Linked DNA regions of Homo sapiens: region 1 is linked to region 2. Evidence: promoter capture Hi-C in 16 types of primary human blood cells and fetal thymus (Javierre and others, 2016). All regions are on one chromosome and are shown on one strand. The core of a region is centred on a gene start or on the middle of the fragment in contact, and the rest is flanking DNA. Distances in the headings are between cores, read along the strand shown.

Region 1 (2,700 bases), core at 20-2,519, 1.1 Mb before region 2:
AACCCTTTCTTCTTTGCAAAGCCCATTGTCACAGTGATTGGCTTACTGCATGCAGGCAGAATGAGCAGGGAGACAGACCTAATACTGACCCTCCTTGAGTAAGTGGATGACTGCAGAGCTGGGATGGAAATCGAGGCACAGAGAAGGTAACAGCACCAAGATCTGTTCTAACCATCCACCCCAAACAGCTCCCCTGCCCAGAATCCCATGTGACCAAGGGCCCATGTGAACCCACGCAGAGCCCATACGAATAAAACCCTTGACATCAGCTTCTTGGGAACCAACCCGCCACCTCCTGAACCAACCAGCTACCAATTAAGCATTAGTCCCCAGAGCAGGAAGCCTGGGCACCTGCTGCATTCTTGGTGGAACCTCATCAGCCCCTGCAGGGTAATCACGCCATCCCAGGTGGCCTCCTGGGATCAGCAATCAGCGACACTCTGATAATGAAATTACTGGGCCCTGATTGCAACAAACTTCCTTGAAGATCCTGGGCCAGTCTTTCTATCTGGGTATTATGAGAGATAATCAGTTTCATCTGGTTTCGGTTCTTTTAAAACTCCCCCTTTGAAATATTCAGATCATTATCTGTAACCAGCGCCTTGCTTCAGCTTTATACAATTTGTGTTAGAGACTGTTATGTGTTCACCAAACCCCAGACAGCTTTTTAAAGAAATTTTATGCATATATAGTATAGGCATGTACATCGCTTCTATTTTTTTGCATGTGATAGCACAATATTACTTTCTTTTCACTTATTACTATCACTTATTACTTATTATTCACTTTTCACTTATTACCAATATTATTACAATATTACTATCTTTTCACTTAGCACCATGTCTTGGAGTCCTGTCTATATCAGTACATTTAGAACAGTCTTGTTCTTTTTCATGGCTGTGTAGTATCCCCATGTGGATTTACCATAATCTGTTTAACCTGCCACCCACTGATGGGCATTTAAGTTGTTCTCAGACTTCTCCTATTATGAGCAATGTTGCACATTCTTGTGAAATTATATCTGCAAGATATAGTCCTAAAGTGGGATTGCTAGGTCAAAGGGCATGTGCATTTTTATTATGGGTAGGAATTGTCCAATTGTCCTGCACAGATATTGATGCCAGTTCTCACTTAAGTTGACCATGTGTGAATGTGACTGTCTCTCCTTATGCCTATGATATTTTATCACCTGTTTAATCTTTGTTAATCTGATAAATGAAAAAAATCTCATTGAAGTTTTGAGTTGTATTTCTTTTTTTTTTTTTTCTTTTTTTTGAGATGGAGTCTCACTCTGTCACCCAGGCTGGGGTGCAGTGGCACGATCTCCGCTCACTGCAACCTCTGCCTCCCTGGTGTTCAAGCGATTCTCCTGCCTCACCCTCCCGAGTAGCTGGGACTACGGGTGCATGCCACCACACCTGTCTAATTTTTTTGTGTTTTTAGTACAGACCGGGTTTCACTGTGTTAGCCAGGATGGTCTCGATCTCCTAACTTCATGATCCACCTGCGTGGGCCTCCCAAAGTGCTGGGATTACAGGTGTGAGCCACCGCGCCTGGCTGAGTTGTATTTCTTATATTATGAGGTTGAGCATCTTTTGCTAGGCTTTAGAGGCATTGATTCTGCTTGTCTTTCAACTCTCACTTCACCCTCTTTGCCCATGTTTCTACTGGGTTCTTTCCTTACTAATTTGTAAGAACTCTATACATCAAGAGCATTAGAACCCTGTGCAGTCCAAGTTGAAGCATTTCTTTCCCCTTTGACTCAGGTATTTGGGGTATTTTGCTGTTTTGTTTGTTTTCCGCCATGTGGAAGGTTTTTTCTTTTACATACAGTCATCCCACTATGGGTCCACATCTGCAGATTCAACCAACTACAGATGGAAAATATTTGGAAAAGAAACAATTAAAAATAACAACGCAGCAATAAAAAAAATACAAATAAAAAAACTATACAGTATAACCACTATTTACATAGCATTTACATTGTATTAGCTATCATAAGTAACCCAGAGATGATTTAAAGTATACAGTTATATGTACACACTATACCATTTTATATCAGGGACTTTAACATCTGAAGATTTTGGTATCTGTGGGGGTCCTGGACCCAATTCCCCAGATACCGAGGATGAACTGTATTTATTTTCTTTTAGTCTTTTTGCACTTTTGTCATACTTTTAGCACGTATACTAAATTCTAATATGTATTTGAATGTTCTTGAACTTTATAGACTGTTCCATTGAGCTTTCGCTCCACATCAGAAACTCATTGTTTATTATTATAGCTTAATATGTGACTAATATCTGGCACAGATAGTCCCCTTCCCCTATTATTCCTTTTTTCTAGAACTTTCCTGCCTCTGCTTGCTTATGTATCTTCCCATAAGAGCCTTGGCATTAACTCCCTACATCCAAAAATATTATATTGAAATATTTAACCTATAGAAAATCGACCTGTTAATGATATCAAGTGTTATACAATAACATGGTATGTGGGTTTCTTGTTGTTCTGGGGGGTTTTGGTTTATTTGTTTGGTTGGTTGGTTGGTTGGTTTTGGTTTTGGTTTATTATTGTTATTGTTTGTTCTTGGCTAAGTCCTAAGCTAATGACTACAGGGTACAAATTTTGATCCCAGCCAACTTGCTAAAATATGTTACTGTTTGTAATTCCCTGGAAAACCCAAGAAAACCTGCTAGAATA
Region 2 (2,700 bases), core at 18-2,517:
AGCATTTTTCATATCCATAATTTGCCCCTTTCTCTAACCCAGGGTGCACGCTGCCGTGGCCCTTGGTGACAATGTCCCCTGTGGCCTTCCTCCAAAGCTTGCTCCAGCAAGCTCTGACATGGTGTCCTCCCTCCCCTTCTGGGCTGCGGCTTCTCCAACCTCCCCCAGCTCCTGCAGACAGAGGAGAAACAGCAAGTCACAAGATAAGACAAAGACCCTCTAGGCCAGGCCACTCCTCGCTGCCACTCTGGGACAGCAAGGCAAAACGCAGACGGCCCCAGCTCTGGACGCCTCTCCTCCTCTGGACCCTAACCCTAACCCTAAGCCACTGGAACACTCACGGGAGAAAGCTGGACCTGCTTTGAGGCTCACCTCCCTGCATGCACATCCATCCGGCTTCTCTCAAGAAGCAACCTGGTGTCTGAGAGCCGTTGAGTCTTCATCCCAGCTCTGGTATTTCTCTCATGTGGCCACATAACCTTGAATGTCTGACCTTCAATTTCTTCATCTGTACAGTGGTGAAGATGATCCCCACTTTGCTAGGTTGTTGTGAGCATTACCTAAAAGAAAATAGGTGCTATGGCGGCATGTTTGTTGAGCTAGGAGGACTCGGAACAAAATTAGCTTCTGCACCGGCTGTGCTGGAGCCAGGCAGGCCGCTCCGGTGTGGCCCTGTTTTTCCTGGTTTGTGTCCCAGGAACCTGCCAACCCTCATTGTCCCGGATTTTCCCTTTGACTCCAAAAGCCGTGTCTTTCTTATCAAGCCTCTTTATTTTTGTTATTATCCCGTCAACATACTCCCCTCTGATTCGCCCCCACTAATGACTCGCGCCCTTTCCAAAGTCCCAGCACACCGCGCTTATAATCTCTTTCAGCTGTCCTTAAAAAGGTTCTATTTGTCCCCTCCGCCCCGCTCAGGGGCGCCCGGACTCTGGGGCCCGGCCTTCGCGGGCTCCCGGGTTCCTCCCATCGCTTCCCTCACAGTCCTGGCCGCAGGGCAGCGGGTTTCGCACGGGAGGGAAGGTTTGGATGGCTAACGCCCAGGGTTGGTCTTCCCTGTGTCTTTTATGGGAACACGTTCCTGCCTGCGCCCCACGGGACAGAGCCGTTTTCCCGCCCCGCCACGCCGCGCCCGCAGGCCCCGCTGCCCGCAGCCTCTTCCCGACGCCCCAGGCCGTGCGCCCCCCCGAACCGGGCCCACCGCGTGCTGTGCGGGGCTTCCGCGCCTGCGCACGAACGCTTCTGCGAGCTTTCTCGGAAGCAGCTGGGGGGCGGGGAATCTGCTGAGGAACGGCGCTTTATAAATCAAAAGATAATAATAACAGAGCTTACGGTGAGCACCGGAGGCTGGAAACGGGGTGGCATCCGCTCGGGGCGGGGCGGCGTCGCCAGCGAATGACAACACTGCCCCCTGGTGGCCGATGCGGCCAGGCCCGAGAGAGCGCAGGCCGGGTGCGAGCCAGGCTTCCTCACCACGCGGCTTCCCCACTCATCCCATAGAAACCGTAACTGAGCAAATGACGGTAAGTCCCCAGGAAGCGTTAAGGCCAGGAAGCAGCACAGGAGAAAAACCCGAATCCCATTTTTTTAGAGTAGGGATTTATTTGTTGTCCCCAGATAGCAAGCTGAATTTCTGAATAGTTCAGAGCTCACAAAAGAAGCCAAGACCTTTCAGGGCATTTTATAATGTTGCTTTTTATAAACAAAATATTGAAACCACTACTATCACTGTCACTGGGGGATTACTGTTGAGCAGAAATGCTTGTGAAACTCCCAAAAGAAAGGGTCGTTTGTGCTTCTTTGGCATTAAGTAAAAATGTCCTGTTTGGTGTGTACACGTTTTCATATTTAATTATTCACACTGTGCACTTTATATATAAACTCAGCACTTAGGTTCTCTGTGAGCCAGAAACCTGGCTTCTGTGCTCATCCATAGACCCAGTGAGAGTGTAGAAGCCAAGCCTGGTGGAGCCTGTGTCTACCAGGGCATTGCAGTAAAGCTTCTACCACTCACTGTAAATACCTCCCATCGAGGCTGAGGAAAAGTTGTAGCATACTTGGAAATTGGGGTGGAGTATTGTCATCCAAAAAGGCATATTTCTTTTGGTGTTTTCCATACCCGGCTGTGTCATTGTGAAGCCTCAGCTCTCCCAATCTCCCCATAAACTGGAGGAATCCTAGTGTTTCCTGTCCTGCCACATTATGTGTGGGGAAGATTTTTTTTTTTTTTTTTGAGACAGAGTTTCACTCTTGTTACCCAGGCTGGAGTGCAATGGCGCGACCTTGGCTCACTGCAACCTCTGCTTCCTGGGTTCAAGCGATTCTTCTGCCTCAGCCTCTGGAGTACGGAGCTGGGATTACAGGCACCCGCCACCATGCCCGACTATTTTTTGTATTTTTTAGTAGAGACCGGGTTTCACCATGTTGGCCAGGCTGGTCTCAAACTCCTGACCTCAGGTGATCCACCCGCCTCGGCCTCCCAAAATGCAGAAAGAGTCTTAAGATGGATTTTTAGTAAGTACTTCAAGCGGCTTTATGAAAGCTACCGTCAGTAAAGTAGAAAACTATATATGCACATATTTAGATATGGAGCTCCCACGGAGGAAGTGCTCTGACAGGTCAAATCTGCCCCCAAAATAAGTTGATAGAACTTCAAGGAAGCATGAAAGCGGCCTTGCTGTGCATTTCATTTTATGGAGC

Evidence for each region. The method cuts DNA at HindIII sites, captures the fragments that hold promoters and counts their contacts. A CHiCAGO score of 5 or more calls a contact.
Region 1: a contact is called between a fragment that was not itself captured here and the fragment with the promoter of LINC02521 in region 2, in 5 of 17 cell types (activated CD4 T cells, total CD4 T cells, naive CD4 T cells and 2 more). The highest score is 9.1, in activated CD4 T cells.

What each region holds. Positions count from the first base shown.
Region 1 is chr6:1,530,152-1,532,851 of GRCh38, forward strand. The region is part of intron 2 of LOC102723944 (a long non-coding RNA gene); the gene reads right to left. Among named protein-coding and RNA genes, the nearest start is that of FOXCUT, 74 kb to the right of the region's middle. The HindIII fragment of the contact is 2,893 bases long and covers 1-2,700 here.
Region 2 is chr6:2,633,233-2,635,932 of GRCh38, forward strand. It overlaps LINC02521 (long intergenic non-protein coding RNA 2521), which reads left to right and starts at 1,268. Exons shown (of 3, transcript NR_149119.1): 1 at 1,268-1,523. LINC01600 (long intergenic non-protein coding RNA 1600) reads right to left here and starts at 1,371. Exons shown (of 3, transcript NR_131168.1): 1 at 1,333-1,371; 2 at 373-560. The HindIII fragment of the contact is 1,903 bases long and covers 96-1,998 here.